Linked DNA regions of Homo sapiens: regions 1 and 2 are each linked to region 3. The links are contacts of gene promoters, found by promoter capture Hi-C in human tissues and cell types (Jung and others, 2019). All regions are on one chromosome and are shown on one strand. The core of a region is centred on a gene start or on the middle of the fragment in contact, and the rest is flanking DNA. Distances in the headings are between cores, read along the strand shown. Region 1 has its middle 120 kb from the start of RASGEF1B. Region 2 has its middle 30 kb from the start of BMP3. Region 3 holds the start of PRKG2 (protein kinase cGMP-dependent 2).

Region 1 (3,882 bases), core at 282-2,781, 140 kb after region 3:
TGGTAAAGCTATTCTTGGGGCCAAGAATCAAAGGTTAGCATTTGACACATTTGAAAATTTTGTAAAATTTCTCTTACTAGGCTAGGCCCACTTAAAGAGATAGAAAACAGTTTGATAAAAAGCTTCATTTAATTATTGAATTTATAATATTTAACTTTTTATACTTGTTGGATTCAGATTGTGAATAATCAAAAAATATATTTAGCAACTTCAGAGATGTTATCAGTTTTAAAAGGACACACATGACATAGACACTTAAATGTACCACATTCATTTTAGTGTCCAGACTATTTCTAGCTCCACTTGTTCCTAAAGACATAGACTCATCTGAGGAATCATGAGGAGGAATAGCACAGGTTGTGAATAGTCATAAAATCATCAGTCTGCAGCTGACCTTTAGGAACTCACCTAACAACTGTGAATTAATGTACATTTTTAAAAGAATCCATTGGGTTAATACACTTTAAAAAGAAATTCAGCCACAAAAATACAAGATGTCTTTGTGTTAATTCAGCAGAAAAGTATCTGGGTATCATTGAAAGAGAGCCATTAGCTGCATATGGGACACATAAATGTATGCATAATAGTGATTCATAATTGCAATTATAAGTCATAATTATGTCTTGCATTATTATGTGTTTTTATTCTGTTGCATGAGTACTTCCATTAAGTAATCAAAGCAAAGAAACCAGTGAGAACATTTTAAAACATTTCACTGGGCGCCTGAATTTTTTTCATTCATAACAGTTATGAGGAGCACTAAAGATGGAATACATTTTAAAATTTCCCCTTCGTATCCACAAATCACTCAGCATTATATAAGAATCCTCTAGGTTTGAAACCTATGGCTTTATGTCCCACAGAAGGTTATTTTTTTTTCCCTTAGTCAGTAAGCTAATCCCTTTCTGCTGCACCAGCTGGAGTCCTGGTGGGGATTAGAACACAGTGTAAGGTAATGCTTGGTTGGTGAATGGGGAATAGGTCTAGCTTCAGTGTCAGAAATTATGTCCAGGCAGAGAGATGGCTGTTTTGAGATGAACAACACTTAGATATCTTTTCTCTTTTTTTTTTTTGAAAAAAAAAAAACAATTTTTATCATAACATGTTTGGGAAGTGGTTAAATCGAAATATGCCATATATAAGTGTCCCAAGTCCCACCCCCTTACAGCCAATAAACAATGCAATGCTTTGGATAATACCAGTGAGCCACTGGGGTTTATAGTCAGAGTTAAGTGACCTGAGAATTCATGTCCTCCCCTGTGTAGATTCCTACACCTGTCTTTTGCCCCAGCACCAGCTCTGAAGCATTACAGAGTTTGTGTAGATTTCCTGTTGATGTCTGAAGGCTATCCTTGGAATCTAGATCAAATCAGGTCTTCTACGATTACTCTGGATGTATGTAGAGCTCAGTGCCAAAAGGAATAAAAACTTTGGGAACCCTTAGGACAGGTAAATAAGCCAGCTCTCAGTAGACATCATAAGATGATTAAAAATGCCTGGCCTCATCCTTTTCCCAAGTTACCTCTCTCCTGTAACCTCTCTCACTCTCACACATATCCCTGAGGGGCCAGAAATAATGTAGGCTCTAAAAAGACCTCTCCAATAGGATTTCAGGATTAAATAGTGGCTTACTTTGCTTATCTAGACTATAGTCTCTCCCATATAAGTGGTTTAAGGTTGTTCACATAGAAATTAATAATCTGAGCTGAAAAAAAAGGGAAGGAAAGGGTGGAGGAGACAGGAGAGAAGAGGGGAGAGAAAAACAAGGAAGGAAAGAAAGACGGAAAGAAAGGCAGGAAGGGAATGGGAGGAAAGGAAAGGAGGGGGGCACAGCCAACTATTCAACTCCAAGTGACTTGCTGCATTTCATGATAGAAGGTTTCAATTTTGCTGACTTATTTCTTGTTGAGAAGACATGTTTATTAATCCTGCAGTTTACATATGCCATGAGTCTTTGAGTCTCTACTTTTTATTTAAGAACACTTTGGCATGGATCACCCTGGATTTCTGTCTTATAGTCATAGATCTCATTCTAAGGCTTAGCTTTGAGGTAAAGGAGCTGTTGCAGCCCTATTCATCACTTATAAATTTGAAACCTGTGGGCTCTTCCTGACTTTCGCCCTGAGAAGTTTATCACTTCGAACCCTCAAAATTGTGACCTCCTTCACTTACATTTTGCCTGATTGTTCTCGGAGCTTTATCAGATAGCAAAATGCCAAATAATGTGCTCTACCTTTCTAGAAAATACCAGTAAATGGCATGACTGGTGGCCAATAAATATATGAAAAAATGCTCAACATCACTAATCATCAGAGAAATGCAAATCAAAACCACAATGAGATACCATATCACACCAGTCATAATGGCTATTAAAAAGTCCAAAATAACAGATGTTAGTGAGGTTGCGGAGAATGCTTATATCCTGCTAGGGGGGTTGCAAATCAGATCAGCCTCTGGGAAAAACAGTCTGAATATTTCTCAAAGAACTAAAAATAGAATTACTATTTGACTCAGCAATCCCATTACTGCATATATGCCCAAAGGAAAATAAATCATTCTACCAAAAAGATACCTGCTCTCACATTTTATTGCAGCACTATCACAGTAGCAAAGACGTGGAATCAACCCAGGTGCCCATCCACGGTGGATTGGATAAAGAAAATGTGGTACCTATGCACGACGGAATACTACGCAGCTGTAAAAATAGAATGAAATCCTGTCCCCTGTTTTTTGCAGCAACATGGATGCAGCAGAAGGCCATTATCCTAAGCAAATTAATGCAGAAACGGAAAACCAAATACCACATGTTCTTTATTGTAAGTGGGAGCTAAACACTGGGTACGCGCAGACATAAAGATGGGAACAATAGACACTGTGGACCCCACAACAGGAGAAGCAGGGAGGGAGGCATGGGTTGGAAAACTATAATACCTATTGGGTACTGTGTTCAGTATTTGGATGATGAGTTCAATTGAAGCTCAAACCCCAGCATCATGCAATACATCCATGTAACAAACCTGCACATGTACCCCCTGAATCTAAAATTTAAAAAAAAGAAAAAAGGAAATGGCATGATCTACAAAATACAACCTGACCTCTATAACTGTTTATTACATGGTCACATTGAAACTTCATTACAAGTAAGAAATATATTTTAAAGTATTCTATGTTTCTAAAAGAACTGAAGTTGTGCAACTGAGAGTAAACACAAAGATGTGAAATGCATTTTTCTACGTATATGTTTATTTCAATAAAAAGATTTTAAAGAAATATATGAAATAGAGTAAGCTGTGGCTATTTGAGTTCATTTCTGTTAAAAATATTATCCTTGTCTATTCAAATCTTTCCTAATTAAATCAAGTTCTATGAGTTCACATACCCCAGGTGTATAGTTTAAAAGTATTTTCTTCACCTGCAATGAGGATGACCATTATGGGGAAGTACTGGGGTTACAATTTGTATTCTGTTCTTGTAAAATCCATTGCACTGAAAACTCTAGAGAATCAAATCTATAATTTATTCTCATAACAGGTAGCACCTGCTAAATGGAAGCACCACAGTTCCCATTCATGGCTCCTTCCTGGATTTTGCCACAGACAAGGACCTAGGGAACTAAGGAATCTTGATTTGTAGCATATAAACATATGATTTAATCATAATAAAGAAAGGAACTTTCACCTACATGTAAAAGTCAGAAATGGTTATAGGGTTTCCCAGAGACATTTTCCATGAAGCTATATATTCATGAGTCCCAAAGCATTGATTCAACTATCAATCCTATGCCTTATTTCCTCTTCACTCTTTCCTAAAGGGCATGTGTGTGTTTGTGCCTGAATACGTCTGTTGATATTTATTTATATGCAGGCGAAAGAGAATTGCTGA
Region 2 (4,002 bases), core at 1,049-3,548, 150 kb before region 3:
GATTTTTAGCAGGCATGTGGAAACGTTGTAAAAGCTAGTTGTGAAGAGAGAAGAATAAATTGGCCAGGGATAGAGCATTGGGCCTTGCATAGTAAAAAGAGTGGCTGCTCTGTTTCCTGATGATATTTTAGTTCCTGTATCTTTTTCTCATAAATCGAACTTTGTGTCCTTGGTTTGCACTGGCTATCCCTGAAAACTCAACAATTACTCACTTGTACTTATGCTGGTTTAAGCCAATATCTGTAACTTGCAACCAAACAGTATTGACTATGATATACTGGAGTAAGTATGCCCAATTGCATAAGACTAGCAACTGGAAAAACTGGTATTAGAATTCTTTGTAACATTATGGAGAGAGCATCTTCCTTGAGATAATACCACCTTGAGTTTGAATTCTGGTTCTTTCAGTTAGTAGCAGAGTGATGTATGCCTTTGAGGAATATTGATGGAATCATCATACTTTCAGGGTAGCCAGTTTTGTGACTAATGAATACTTTCAAAAGAGTTGCCTCAGTTCTCATGCCAGAGGATTGTCTTGAAATACCACTTAGAATTGATCTTTGTAGCTATTAGAAGGTATGGTGGGAATTAAGGTTAAGAATAAGAACGTTGAGCACACATCCACTTAGTATTACCAAGGATTGCTCACATCATACAAAACTCTATTTTAGTGGGTAGAGATGTGCTTGATGATATAAAGCATTAATGCCTACATTGTCTGCAGTCTCAGAACTGGAAGTTAGCTATATGTAACTATTAACAAGTGAATATCAACCAGTAAAATGAAAATATATTCACATAGGAAAAGCACAATGTTACAGAGTTATATATATTTACATCCACAACATACAAAATGTGAGAACCCCGTGAGCCTTCCCTTCATACTCTTTTGTTCACAAAAAGTGGATGTTCTCACAATATGATATTTAAATTTTAATTTGGGTTATATTTGTTTTTTTCAATTGCATTTGAAGCAACATCAGAATCTATGGCAATGCTAAGCTCTGGGCTTGAGCACTTTCCTAAGTTCCTTCACCTCTTACATGTCCTAATTTTCTCCAGGTGGTGGTTAAAAATTCCTTTTTGCTCTAGTATACCAGAATCCATGAGTCAAACATCCATATTAAATCACAACTTATAAATATTTTTCTCCTGATCATGTCTTGGGAAAAAAAGCAACAACAAAAGTCACGATGGAAGGGAAAGAGAGAACACAAGAAAGGACCAGGGTAATAGATCATCCGTCCCTCAACTTAGGAGATTGTTGATTCTATCTCACTTCTATCATGTGATGGGGTTTGTGAGACTCTTCTACTTTTCATACCTACATTTTATTTACAGCATTCTTCCTCTTACTTTAATAATAAAAAGTAGGTGATATTATTTGTCTTACTATATTTTAACAAATAACTAAGGCATCTAATACCTTAACGAAAAACAAAGCCAAATGAATTGTAGAAAATAGACTAAAATATTATATATGTGTATTTCTGGTATATGAAAGTTTATTTTTATGCATATTGTATTTCATAGATACAGGCTTACAGGCAGACAATTTACGTTAGAATCTCAACTCTGTCACTTACTGTAGGACCTTGGACAAGTTATTAAGCTTCTTTCTGTTTCCATGTCCTCATGTGTAAAATGAGAACAAAACACAGAGCCTGCCTTACAGGGCTGTGAAAATTACTTGAGCCTTTATACATGAAACACTTATAAATGTTCATAGCACAAAGTAAATATTCTTCGAAATTTGCTTTTTGATTTTTTTAAATGCATTTTATACACTTCCATGAATGAGTCCTCATTTGACCCTGAGAAGTATTGGTGCGTATTATCCTCACTTTACTGACCCAGGAGAATAACTGACACACCTTAGGTCAGAACCATGCTAGTAGCATCAGGGCTGGGATTCCAGCAGCGATAATCTCACCCCAATTGTCCTATTCTTTTGCACTTCACCTCAGTTGCCTCTACTTAAAGAAAGCTGCCAGAGTAATTTCACCCATCTTTCCTTGGAGTCCTGAGAAATTTGAGGAAAATAGACTATCGCATCATAAAGAAAGCAAAAAAAAGTTTTAATAATGGGGTAATGTTTGATTAGTGTTGGGATCTGAGAACTTTCCCCTGAGTTGAACTTCCCCACCCAATTTCAGGTCAACCCGGGTGGTACAGAGATGGTCTCAGTGAGTTGAATTTTTGGAAAATGGAAAAATGTGCATTTTGAGTAAATAAATTCTGAAAAAGGGAAAGTCAAAGTGAGGCTGAACTGTGTACTCTCAGTTCCCATTTCTTCTCATCGTCAATCAGATATGTCTCTCCCCTTAAAGAGAAAGGATAGGGACAAGAGCAGAAAATATTACTTCAACACCGTTTCCACCCAGAGAGTACAAAGGAATTCCTGTTCCTGTCTAAGGAGAATAGAGGTAGTATACTAATAAGAGCCTCCCCTTCATCTCCACAATGCCACTAAACAGGAAATTCTGGCCTTCCCTACACGCCAAAAGAACAACAGCACAGGTGACTTAAACTTTAAATCTTAACATGGCCCCACTAAAAATATGAACCAATGGTCAAACCACCAGCTTTTACCCTGTCATCGGTAGGATCATTGCTCCTTCTCCCATGGGGAAGAGCCATGAGAGGAGGAAGAAAAAAACAAGAAGTATCTCCCAGCACTGTTTTCTCTTAGCCAGTGGGGTGGAAGTTGAGCGCCCTTTAGAGGAAAATGAGAAATGGGGTAAAAGTGACTTGCCTAACATATCTTGTGATATGAACTGTCTCTTATCTTTTTAAAATTAAAATAAACATAAGTTATGAAACTTAAGCAAACACTATATACAGTAATCATTTTAGGTAGTTGGGATTTGTTTTATTTTCATTTTTTGGTATGAATTTCCCTGCCTTGTGTACCATGCCTATTTTCTCTAGGTCCATCAGAGGATGTGGAAAGAAAATCCATCTTTGGTTTGCTTCAAGTCCAAGGCCATAGTTGTCTGAGTATTTGAGATACCTCCCATAGAGAAAGAGAACTCTATTTTGCAAGACAGTTGGAGGCTACTCTGTTGATAATTAACAAGGTCAGAATACCTGAGAAGCATTATTTTTACCCTGCCTGCTCAATTTTAGTTGGTGGCAACTTGATTTGAGTTTATTCCTCATTTCTTTTTGTTTCATCAAAATACTGCCTTGAGGGCAATAAAAAAAATCCAATCCCAGAAAATGTTAAATCAGAGAGTAGCAGGTGTTTTCTTCCCCTTATTCCCTTGATCCCAGCCCTATACTCAGACACACACACCGCATACACACACACATACACACACATGTCCTAGAAAAAGTTAAATCAGCGGGTAGCAGGTGTTTCTTCCTCATGTTCCCTTCATTCCAACCTGCTCACAACTGGGAACTGGGGATGGGGGAAGGAGGGAGGAAGAAAGGGAAAGAAACCGAGAGAGAAATGCCTAGCTCTACTAGAACATCACAGAAGCAGGGAGAGAAATATGGTCATGATCCAACCCTTTGCTCAAAATATTATGCTGAACCTTTTCAGATTCAGCACATAGGCAAACTACCACCAAGTTGCAATGAAAACCAACCCCCACTTCATGGGGGCTCAGGCCAGATGTGAATGCAGCAGTCCAGAGGTGAGGCAATTATGTGCAAGAATCATGTGAAAGAGCATTCCCCAAAACGAACTCACTTAAGGAAAACATTTGGTGTTTACAGGACTTCAGCCCTGTTTTCTGGAGATTTTCCATCACTATAAACACTGACATATACACACATGAACATAAGTGGGTTTTTTAAAATGGGCCTAGAATATGTGATTTCACTAAATTATCTCATTTATTAGAAATGAAAAAATTAATGGTATAATATCAAAAATTTGGCAGCTGAAACAGTCACATAGACAAATACTGAATGGAAGCCAGTGCCCATAGGCTGGTGATAATACATGGAAGCTTGGAACTGTTAGTAATCTTCAGATGATTTTGTAATGCA
Region 3 (4,224 bases), core at 1,188-3,687:
ATATGAGGTTGGAAAGAAAACTGTAAGATATGGTAAGAAGGTACTGCTTTGGTTAAAGTGAGAGAGGATGTGAAGAGATTAATATTAGAAGAGGGTGAGTAGGAGGAACACTGCAGGATAGCATCTCTAATGTAGTAATTAAATGGATGTGCATGGGAGGGCAATCAAAATGATTTCAATGTTTTGATCTTAGGAGGCTTGAAGGAAAGTATTACTATCTACTCTTCATTCATTCAGTCATTCAAAAAGAACACATAGGGCACCGTGTATGGGCTAGACACTGTGGCACTGACAGAAGTCAGGAGAATGAGCATGCTTTGAAAAGACAGTAATGAGTCTGGATTTACATATATTGAGTTTGAGATGCTTGTGGGTCATCATGATGCAAATGTCTAGCAGGTAGAAGCAAAAAAGAAAACTCAAGGGAAGAGATTGCTCCATAGAAGACTTGAAGTACCATTTGTAGATGAGATCACTAAGGGAGGTAAGAAAGGAATGTCTCTATTGTTACCTATGAACATATAGGTAATATCTGTGGATATTATTTGTGGGAGAAGAGGAGGAGAAGCAAACCACAAAGGAGAAGGAACACGTGTACCAATAAGAGATTTAGGAGAAGCATCAGAAAGGCCATGCAGATAAGATCCTTAAGAGGTGAGCAGGCTGTACCTCACATCCCACAGGCCTGTCACAGCAAATGAGATCAGAGAGAAAAGTGCTGAATCTGATTTGTCAAAGAGTGGGGATAGACACTCAACTACAAGGGACCATGGAAAGAGCTGACACTAAGAGTAGAGCCTGCAAGACGATATCATGATTCATGTGAGGGATTTTTAAAATAATGAAAATTTGAAAATGTCTGTAGCTCCAGGATAATGAAGCACAGGAGATATGAAAAACGAAAACATGGGAGAAGAAGAGATAATTCATAGGAAAAATAGCCTAGAGGAAGCAAGACAATAAGGGATCACAGGACTTGGGCAACAGCCAGGCAACATATGCCTTCACTGTGAGGTGAATTCTCATTAGCCTCACTTGTAATGACTTCATAGAACTGGAGTTAAGGATTTCACGTAAAAGAGAAAGATCCCTGGGCATCATCTTTTCAGGTCGTTTATTCTTAGTCATACAGCGTTCCAACGGAGAGGATGCACTCTAATTCTCCATAGAGAATTCTCTACCATATTAGCTCATACCCTCCTGTGCAAAACTAAACAGGAGTACTGAAAACAGCTAGTGTATGTTATGTGGGATGATCGCCTTCTTCATGAGTTAAATAGAAACTTGCAAAGAAAAGAGACAATTTCTAAGAAACTCTAAATATGGGGGTGTGGTGGGGTGGGGGCAGGTGTATGTTGCTCTCTTCCTTAAAAAAAAAAAAAAAAAGAAGGAGAAGAAGAAGAAGGAAAAAGCCCCTGGGAACTTGGGGAACAAGATGAAGATCAGGAAATCAAGGCATTTGTCCCAGCGTCACCCTTCCTACCTACTAATTCTGCATGCGTTGCTTTTATTGTCAGCTCTGGCCTCAGCTGCTTCGTAGTTGCACCGTAGTTCTTCTCAGAACTGAACCTATTTCTTTTTTTCTCATCCCCAAAGTGGCTGGTTTCTGGGCTTTGTTTGCTCTTGTTTCTTCATCACCGAGAAATACAGAAATATGAAAGCGCCTCACGGTGCCCAGAGTGACAAAAGGACACCCACACAAGTTTACCAGGACTCCTAAAAGTCCTTGCCTGAGGACTGTCCCCTAGCAACTACCCAGAGCTCGACGAAGCAAAGCCGGGAGCGCAAGCCCTGACAGCACCGCCAAGCCCCTAGCTCGGAGCAACAGCCTCCACCGCTTCTCCTCGCTAAACCTAGAGAACCCTGAGGACTCCCCACTGGGGCTGAGCCCCTCCCGCCCTCAACAGAACCTCTAAACACAAGTAGCCTTTCCCTGCCTCCAGGAGCTCACGAAACGCTGCCACACCGAGCGAATGCAACGCGTACACACGTCCACACTCGAACAGCACAAGCAAGAGACCGGCTGGGTGTGGAATAGAGGCGCACATCGCGCAACGCATTCACAGCATGCACACGCGCGCACCCCGACCCCGTCCCTCCCCGCGCGCCCTCACACCCCGGCGCCCAAGACCCCCGGCCCACGAACCTCACCAGACAGCCGGGTAACTTTCCAGGTGCGCAGCTTGTCACCTCGGCGCGGCCGCCCCTGCGTCTCAGCGTCCTCTCCCACGCCGCCCTCCCCAGCCGCCTGCGGCGCCGGAGCCCAGCGCAGGTCAGCTCAGCCAGCCCCGCCGTGCACACGGTGCGCAGCGTGGGCCCGGGGCTGCCGGCTCAGTCGCTCCGGCTACGTGTGAGCCGGGGGCGCGGGTTAGCGCGATGCGGGCAGGAGCTGCGGCGGCGTCGGTGCTGCCGCCTGGCTCCGCGGCGGGGGCCGGTGCAGAGGAGACACGCAGGGAGGGAGGGAAGAGAGGAGGGAAGGAGGAGGGAGGGGGTCAGCCGGGGCTACTGCCTGGATAGTTGGGCGCCGGCTTCCCTAAAGGTGGGGTCACCCGCGCCCGCACGCACACTAGCCCGAACCTTTACTCCCGACACAGCCGCAGTCTGCACTTTATACCCCATACCCTCCATAGTGAGGCAACTTAAGTAGGGCGATAACATCGTGGTTGTAAGCATTTTTGTTCATGTTATTATTTCTATTTCAAGTGTGTGGGACGAGGGGAGAGGAAAGTTCAGGGAGGTGTTCATTTTTTCCTTCCCCTCCCTTTCCTCCATCCTTCCAGTCTGTTTTCACTGCAGGCTCTCTCCACTTCGCCTTCCCTCCCAGAGCTCAAACAGGCGCACGTACCCTGGACATGCCCTCCTCTGTCACACCAATGCCTTTCTACGAAGACATGTGACCCCGAAGCAGCTCGTCGACGCGCCCCTCCCGGACTCTGGGGCCATAACTTACATCTAGTTTGCCAGTTCACGTGATGCTGGGGGCAGGGGTTGAATCGAGTTTCGAGGGACAGAGATTATACCTTCCGAATCTGCAGGTCTTTGGGAAGGGAGCTTTCTTGATCACCCAAGAAGATAATGCTCTCTCGTCACCTTTTGAGTACATTTTTTTTTCCTGAAGGGTGCAATATGGTTTCCTAAATATATATGTACACCCCACCGCATTATTTGCTGTGCTCTGGAGTTGTGAGATCTCCATGTGGCTTTTTCCCTTTCCTTCTGCCCCCAGAGGAATTTCACCAGCAAATTCACGGAGGACAAGGGCAGTTTCTGTGTTGAGAGATGGAAAGTATAGTGAGGGTCTATTCCTCACTGTGCATCTAGAGAATGTTACAACCAACTCTCTTGGGTTTTTAAACCACATGGTGGCAGTGGGGCTCATGTAACATTTGTATACACTGTTACATACATAAACTTATATTAAAAATGAGGCCCATGTAAAATATGTTGAATGAGACCATTAAGTTTCAGAGGAGGAGGAATATAGTCCTGTTTGTTTTTGTGCTAACTGGAGGAAAATCGCGAAAGTACACAAAGTACCTTTTCATGAAGCTATCCCAGAGTCTGTACATTTTATAAAGACCTCAAAAAAAAAAAAATTAGAGGAGAAAGGAGTGAGGAAGAATTCCACAAGAAAAGAGAAAATAAGTAATTGTATGTCACTGTAATAATGGACTTTTAAGTTGATGGGCTGAATTTTTATTAGCGATTTAATGACAAAAAGGAGAAAAACAGATTTTCAAAGTCTTCACTTTAAAAAAAAATTTCAGATTCAGGGGTACAAGTGCAGTCGCATTACACGGACATAACACATAGTGGTGAGGTCTGGGCTTTTAGCGCACCTATTACCCTAATAATGTGCACTGTACCTAATAAGTTGTAATTCCTACCTCACCCACCTCCCACCCTCCCACCTATTGGAGTCCCCAGTGTCTGTTATTCCATTCTGGATACTCATGCCTGCCCATTGTTTAGCTGCCACTTATAAGAGATTCTGCAGTTTTTGACTTTGTTTCTGAGTAATTTCACTTAGGATAATGGCCTCTAGTTCCATCCATGTTGCTGCAAAAGATATGATTTCATTGTTTTTGTGGCTGGGTAGTATTCCATTGTGTGTGTGTGTGTGTGTGTGTGTGTGTGTGTGTGTGTGTAGTACCCCTGAATCAAAAAAAAATTTTCCCAGTTTTTCAGGTGATAGGTACACAGTGTATGTGTGTGTATACCACC

Evidence for each region. The method cuts DNA at HindIII sites, captures the fragments that hold promoters and counts their contacts. A contact is called where the count stands out against the background at its distance.
Region 1: a contact is called between a fragment that was not itself captured here and the fragment with the promoter of PRKG2 in region 3, in 1 of the 25 tissues and cell types used here (IMR-90 fibroblasts).
Region 2: a contact is called between a fragment that was not itself captured here and the fragment with the promoter of PRKG2 in region 3, in 1 of the 25 tissues and cell types used here (H1 embryonic stem cells).

What each region holds. Positions count from the first base shown.
Region 1 is chr4:81,354,407-81,358,288 of GRCh38, forward strand. No RefSeq gene overlaps it. Among named protein-coding and RNA genes, the nearest start is that of RASGEF1B, 120 kb to the right of the region's middle. The HindIII fragment of the contact is 4,669 bases long and covers 1-3,866 here.
Region 2 is chr4:81,058,493-81,062,494 of GRCh38, forward strand. No RefSeq gene overlaps it. Among named protein-coding and RNA genes, the nearest start is that of BMP3, 30 kb to the left of the region's middle. The HindIII fragment of the contact is 3,739 bases long and covers 430-4,002 here.
Region 3 is chr4:81,212,785-81,217,008 of GRCh38, forward strand. PRKG2 (protein kinase cGMP-dependent 2) reads right to left here and starts at 2,438. Exons shown (of 19, transcript NM_006259.3): 1 at 2,152-2,438. LOC124900726 (a long non-coding RNA gene) reads left to right here and starts at 2,102. Exons shown (of 2, transcript XR_007058162.1): 1 at 2,102-2,174; 2 at 2,781-3,440. RefSeq lists enhancers at 1,470-1,970, 1,971-2,471. The HindIII fragment of the contact is 9,769 bases long and covers 1-4,224 here.